Regions from separate parts of the Homo sapiens genome. Here region 2 is linked to region 1. Evidence: promoter capture Hi-C in 16 types of primary human blood cells and fetal thymus (Javierre and others, 2016). All regions are on one chromosome and are shown on one strand. The core of a region is centred on a gene start or on the middle of the fragment in contact, and the rest is flanking DNA. Distances in the headings are between cores, read along the strand shown. Region 1 holds the start of THAP1 (THAP domain containing 1). Region 2 holds the start of KAT6A (lysine acetyltransferase 6A).

Region 1 (3,459 bases), core at 406-2,905:
TTCCTTCTGCCAAGCCATCAGAAATGTGGGTGGGGAGCTGGGCATGTAATCCTGTTACCATCACCTGACCTTTCCCTACATTTAGAAAGAACATGTTTACAGAAATTCCAATTAAATCAAGAGATAATATTAGGATATCCTGAACTGAATCCTCTAAGTGTTCTATCCCCTTCTCCAAGGGGTAACATTATTACTCTGGAGACCTCTCTATGTTCTACACACTCTTATTTCTATAGGGTCCATCTCACATGATATCAAACATATTTAAAAAATGCATGGACACTCCCCTAGTAAACACAGATGGCCCCACAGCAAAAAAATAAATTAACTGAAAAGATATTTAACATTTTGCTTTTGTAATTATTTACCTAATTATAAAAGATAATTAGCTAATTACCTATGGCTAATCTGTATAGTTTACCCCTGGATCTGATTTCTTACCTATCATCTGCGTATAGCTGTCAGGAATTCTTGCAAAGAAAACTTAACATAAATGTAATTAAAATTTGTAAACAAATTCAGCTGAATGAAAATGTTATGTCACATTTTACAAGCGTTTATCATAAGTAATTACAACTCTGCACTTTTTTCCTATTTTCAAGAGAATATTTTTGATCCTATCACTTAACTGTGCTACCTACTGGATAAGACAGCTCTGAAAGCTGTGGGGCAGTTTCTTTCGAAAGAGCTTTCTCTATGCACAGGTAATGCCATAATAAATAAAGATCCGTGTGAGTCATTTTATTATGATCCATGTTGTAACTGTCCATATTATCATTATTGTGTGCTGAAAAGATAACGATTTATCTCGGCAGTACCTGAAGCTTTCTCCAAAATACAGGGTCCTTAAAGCTTAGTTCCTAGAGATTGGGGGCAAAAATTCTCCCTGATTTCCCAGCCAAAAAACCCTTAATTGCTACGATGCTGGCCTCCCATCCACGGCAAGGGCGAAAAGTAGTGATTTCTTCGTTTAAAGGCCTTTGTTTCTATTTTAAATTTACCCCTAAGACCATATTAAAACACCTGGCTGCTCTGTGACCCTGGTGGTGGCAAAACCCGCGCCACCCTAGGCATCGCCCGTGGGCTCCGAACGCGTCAACCCAGGCCGTGAGCGAAGCCTGCAACCAGGGCCTGTTCCAGGAGCGCGAGAAACGGCTGCCGCGGCGACGCGCGCCGAGAACGCGCGATCGGGCGGCGGTTCCCAGCGGGACGCGGTGGGAAACGCCCGACACGGCCGGCCCCAGACCCCACCCGCCCCTCGCGCGGACACGCGCCTGGCTCCGCCCCCGGCCCCGCCGGCCGCGCGCCCCCACCCCGGCTGAGACCGGCCCCGCGAGGCGCGCAGGGTCCTCACTTGTGGAAAGAAACGGGCTTGTCCTTGTCGTAGCGGTTCTTGCAGCCGTAGGCGGAGCAGGACTGCACCATCCTTCCGGTCCTCAGGCACTTCACTTCTGCCGCCGCAGAAGGCAGGGGAAGCTGTTCTCAGTGTCGCTGCGCTCGGTTGGATTCCCTCGCTTCTTTTGTAGCTTTGGCCAACAGTTACAGTGATGGTGGCCTCCCTCGGGGGTGACTAGTGTGCCCGTTTTGTTGTTTGCATTAGCAGAAGGACCACAGCCATCGCCCGTCTCCCATCTCCAAGATGGCGGAGGCAGCTTCAACCTCACCTCTCGCGAGGGGTGCGTCCCACTGTCTCTGATTAGCCCCGAGGTCAGAGGTAACGTTTCCTGGGAAGCTAACTATTGGCTGAGGCCAGGTGTTTCCGGCGGTGGCTTCAGAGTTGCCGAAGTGGGCGGAGCCCTGAGCTTCCGGCAGGCAGGAAGGAACTGCTTGTGGGGGGAGGAGGCGCGGCGGGAGGCCGGATTCCTGGGGCATCCTCCAGCCCCGGGCTGTTCCCGTGGGTTAATTGATGCGGACCTTTTCTGGGGCAGCTTACAGTAGGGAACAACTAGGGCCTCTTGGAGAACAGGTGTAAAGCCGAGGTCGTTGGCTGATTGCGCCCATTTCTTTAAAAGGGCGGACACAGATGGTGTATGATTAATAAAATTGTGGAACCTTTTCCCAGAGTGCTAATCTTTATCCCATTACCTGTGTCTTCAGGTATCACAAGTTTCTGTGAGAGCCAACGTGACAGATTTTTAGCAATGAAAAAAGACACACTCGCCAAATCATCTCAATTGCCAACGCAGAAGCGTTTTATATATATGTATGTATATGTATGTATATATGTGTGTATGTATATATGTGTGTGTGTATGTATATATATATATATATATGTAATTTTTTAAATAAATAGAGGCGTTGTCTCCCCACGTTGCCCAGGTCAGTCTGGAACTCGAGCTCAAGGGATCCTCCCATCTCGACCTCCCCATGGGTTGGGATTACAGGAGTTGAGCCACCAGGCTGTCCCTCCCCAGAAGCTTTTCTGAAGGCTCTCCATTGCTGTGATTTCCATGTGCTGTGTTGCAAATAGCGAACTGCTGCAGCAATTTTCACACCTGAGAGAGAATATGTTAGAGGGGTTCGAACTAGAGCGACTCTGTGTTGAGTGAGGGCTAGGAAAATGAGGCTGGGACTTGCTGGGCTGCATTCCCGGGAAGTTAGGTATTCCTAGCCTCTAGATGTGTATACCATTAAGGCAACAGATTGATAATGTTTACTACACAGACCCAGACTACCAAGTGTCCAGATATCCCGATATTTTGAGAACAGAAGCATTCCTAATTTTGCTTTAAAGATAATAATATTGGGCTGGGCACAGTGCCTCACGCCTGTAATCCCAGCACTTTGGAAGGCCGAGGCGGGCGGATCACTTGAGGTCAGGAGTTCAAGACTAGCCTGGTCAACATGGTGAAAACGTCTCTACTAAAAATACAAAAATTAACCGGGTGTGGTGGCACATGCCCTCGAATTTCAGCTACTCTGGAGGCTGAGGCAGGATAATCGCTTGAATCCGGGAGGCGGGGGTTGCAGTGAGCCGTGCTTGCACCACTGCACTCCAGCCTGGGCGACAGAGTAAGACTCTGTCTCATAAATAAAGATAATATCGATTCTTACATAATATAGTAATTAATCCTTTATCACAAACCCTTGTAGCAAAGCACATCTCCCCATGATCTTTTTTTATCCTATATATAAACTAAGTGTTGTACTTAGGGTGGACGCGTTCCTCCTCTTACTTTCGGGAATGCCCTACTCTGTCTGTGGAGTAGCTGTACTTTCACCACTTTACGTTCTTAATAAACTTGCTTTTGCTTTGTACTGTGGACTTGCCCTGAATTCTGTCTTGCGTGAGATCCAAGAACCCTGTCTTGGGGTCTGGATTGGGACCCCTTTCCTGTAACAGTTTTACTTCATTCCCTGCTCCTTTTCTTTATATAGATCTGAGCCAGGCAGACCTGGAGAGCGGACTGTTGAGTAATCCCTTGGCCCTTATTCTCTACCTTTCCTGCCCTTTTAAAT
Region 2 (3,459 bases), core at 578-3,077, 790 kb before region 1:
CTGGCTACTTGTAGGACTAAAGAGAAGCCCAAATAATAAAGATATAAATTCAAGATTGCTGTCCTGAAACGAACATTAATAAAACATAAACAGAAATGTACTGTCTCTCTGAATCAAAGTCAGTATCCCTATAAAAGAATCTGGTAGATGCAATCTTGTTTAATCACTAAAGTACTGAATTCTGAATCTAACTCTTTTGCCTCCAAAAATAAGTTTAACTGAAGTGTTTTTTAGAACTTCTGCTCTCATTCTGGAGATCATTTGCATTACAATATAAACAATGCTAGACAAATGGCTCCCACAGCAACTATTCTTGGTAGTGACATTAAAATCAAACGGAAAACTAATACACACTAGGAAAGAGATATTACTATTAACTCTGATAGGAAAGAAAAGAGTGAAGCAAACATTCAAACCTGAGCCAAGATTTGTTTTTAAATCAGCTGCCTAAAAAGAAGCCCCCTGGGAGAATCATGCTTCAATTTGGTGAGGGTCTCAAGAGGATAGAAATCAGAGTATCATTACTCCAAGTAAGCTCATTATACAGATATTAAGTCTAAACTAAATGAGAAGCTACATCCTGAGTTTAACAAGCTGGGAACGAACGTCCTAATTGACTAAGCTTCGCAGGTAAAAGAATGAGTGACAGTCACTCATTGTCTTTCCAGTCGGGATTGTCATCAGTCTCCAGGTCTTCGGAAAGTCAAGCGCCTGCAGCCTCGGATCTTAACTCCCGGAAAGTACACGAGCGGCTAGAGCGAGCGCAACTCGCTTCCGACAGTCCTTCCCGTCCCCATTCCCCACCCCTAAACACGTCTTCGCGCTCTCTTTTCAAAGAGCGAGAAACTTTAAAAACTTGGATCTGCACAGCCCGGCAGCTCGCCGACGGGGCGCTGCACCGTTTCCACGCGATGGAAACAGACCCCGAGCACAAGTTAACAATGAAATCACGTGAAGGAGTTCAGAGCGGTGCATAGCCCCGGCCCAGCTCCGCACCCTAAGCTCTGGGGGCCGGCTCGAGGGCGGCGCGGGTTGCTGGGAGCCTGACAGTCGCGCACCGGGCCAAGCCGCGAGGTTGACAGGCGCCCGGCCTCCCCTCGGCGGCTGGGCTGACAGCCCGGCAGACACAACACCACACGTGCTGCGCCTCGCACCACAACACCCGCCGGCCTGTCAGCCCCGCTCGCCGCCTCAGCCCCGCTCGGATCCCCGCGCCCCCGGCCGGAGCCAAAGCCGGAGCCGGAACCCGAGCCCGAGCCCGAACCCGAGCGCCCGCGAGCGCGGGGAGAAGCGGCCCGGCCCGGCACAGCCGGCACGCGCGCGGCGGGCGGGTGGGCGCGCCCCGAGGGAGAGCGGGCTCGCCGGCTCCGCCAGCCCGAGGCTCCGCGGCCTGGGCCGCTCGCCGCCCGCCCACCCGCCGGCTCCCCCAGGGCGGGCCCGGCCGGCGGGATCGGGGGCGCGGGGCCCGCGAGCGCGGGGCCGGGCGGCGGCGCGCGGGCCGCGGGCCGGGGCAGCCGGGCGCCGAACAAGCGAGCAAGCGAGCGAGCGAGCGGGCGGGCGCGAGGGGGCGGCCACGGCGCCCCAGCCCGAGGCCTGGCGCAGAGCAGCGGGAGGCGGCGCAGGCCGCGGCGGGGCCTGCAGCGGCCCGCCGACCCCGCGAGGCAGCGGAGTGGGCCCTGGAGCGGCTCGGCCTCGGGCTGGGCGGCCGGGGGCGGCCGGGAACGGCCCCTCGGCTACTTACCGGGAGGAAGGACAGCCGAGATCCCGGGGCCCCGGGCCGGACCGCGGAGATGCCCCAAACTGACACGGCCGCCATCTTGGAGACAGTGAGCTCCAGCCGGGGGGAGGGGAGGCAAGGCGGCGGAACAGCCGCGGGGGGAGGGGAGCGTCGCGAGGGAACGGCGGCCTGGGGGAGGGAGCTGGAAGAGCCTGGGCGGGCGGCGAGGGGAGGCGGAGGCCCGGCAGCGCGGGTGGGGGGCGGCCGAGAGCGGGAAGAGCTGGGCCGAGAGCCGGGAAAGGCCGGAGGGCGGGGCGGGGCAGCAGGGAAGAGCCGGCCGGCGGGGTCACGTGGGGCCGGTACAAAAGGCCAAAGCCAGGGGAGGAGGAGGACTTGGTGGGGCTGGAGGCTGGGGAGCGGGGGTTCCTCCTCTCCCGTCTCACGCGTTTAAGTCAGACGGCGACCCGGGAGAGGAGGAGCTGGTGCACCCCATGCCACCGCTGGGGAAACTGAGGGCAGGAGTCTGGGTGGGGTGGCTTCAGTGTGGCACGGAAATCCGGCAGCCACGCAGGATGGGAACTCTCGGCGGCGTCTGTTTACAGTTAGTGAGCCCTCCCTCCCCACTCATTTGCCTGCACAGCGACTTTCCGGAGCCCGAGGGCGGGGCCTGGGGGGCGGAGAGGAGGCGGCTTCCCGTCCTCACCCCTGGCAGCTCGCCTCAGCCCCCGACGGCTCTCCTGTGTCGGTGGGAAGAGTTGGGGAGAGGGTGGAACCAGAAGCACCCGTCTTAACCCCTTTCAGCAGTGACTTCATTTCTTCCCTCCCCCAGCAGCTGAGAGGGTTCTTGGAGCTCACTAGAGCCATTTTATGGGAGACTCCACAGACCTGGGTCGTGTGACTTGGACAAGGTCACACAGCTAGTATGTGGCGCGCACCTGAGCCTGGGACTGAGATTTGTCTTATTCCAAAGCCGGTCTTCCCTTCTTGCCCTGTGCGGAACTCTTGTCCATACTTAGGGCGTTGGAACCACGAGCAGGCGGTTCTTCATGGCCTGCCTGTCCACTACTGGCTGTATGGACGTTTCTTTGTCTTGCCTTTCATCTACTTTAAACTCTTTGATGCAGAGACTGAGTCATACTTTTTTTTTTTTTTTTGAGACAGTGTCGCTCTGTTGCCCAGGCTGGAGTGCAAGTGGTGCGATCTTGGCTCACTGCAACCTCCGTCTCCTGGGTTCAAGCGATTCTCCTACCTCATCCTCCTGAGTAGCTGGGACTGCAGGCGCCCGCCACCACGCCTGGCTTATTTTTGTATTTTTAGTAGAGACGGGGTGTCACTATGTTGGCCAGGCCGCTGGTCTCGAACTCCTGACTTCAAGTGATCCGCCCTCTTCGGCCTCCCAAAGTGCTGGGATTACAGGCCTGAGACACTGCACCTGGCCAAGTCATGCATTTTTTTTTTTTCTGCATTCACTAGAAAGACAGTAGACATGAAAAAGACACTAAATGTTTAATCGTTGACATGGACGTGTATCCTGCTGCCTGACCTTTATCTGCCCTGTCCCCAACCCCATACGACACACCCCGCCTAGACTGTCGCCCGCAATACCTCATTTTATCTCAGCTTTAGCTTTTAAGGGCCTCCCTCTCACCCACTGCCTTAACTTCCATGCTGACTTCCTTTTCTGAACTTCTGTAGTAGTATCATTTGCTCTAGTCATTTTGCACTTACATGTGATATATATA

The links. Contacts are between HindIII fragments. The CHiCAGO score rates a contact against its expected background, and 5 or more counts as called.
Region 2: the fragment with the promoter of KAT6A here is called in contact with the fragment with the promoter of THAP1 in region 1 in 3 of 17 cell types (fetal thymus, total CD8 T cells and naive CD4 T cells); the score reaches 7.7 in fetal thymus.

What each region holds. Positions count from the first base shown.
Region 1 is chr8:42,841,670-42,845,128 of GRCh38, forward strand. THAP1 (THAP domain containing 1) reads right to left here and starts at 1,656. Exons shown (of 3, transcript NM_018105.3): 1 at 1,355-1,656. The coding sequence starts at 1,425. It overlaps LOC124901940 (a long non-coding RNA gene), which reads left to right and starts at 1,265. Exons shown (of 2, transcript XR_007060901.1): 1 at 1,265-1,714; 2 at 2,098-3,459. RefSeq lists enhancers at 1,249-2,039, 1,375-1,734 and a silencer at 1,255-1,344. The HindIII fragment of the contact is 1,565 bases long and covers 851-2,415 here.
Region 2 is chr8:42,050,160-42,053,618 of GRCh38, forward strand. KAT6A (lysine acetyltransferase 6A) reads right to left here and starts at 1,828. Exons shown (of 17, transcript NM_006766.5): 1 at 1,742-1,828. It overlaps KAT6A-AS1 (KAT6A antisense RNA 1), which reads left to right and starts at 1,591. Exons shown (of 2, transcript NR_136589.1): 1 at 1,591-1,826. RefSeq lists silencers at 922-1,391, 1,492-2,121, 2,312-2,471 and enhancers at 1,920-2,441, 2,442-2,962. The HindIII fragment of the contact is 5,822 bases long and covers 621-3,459 here.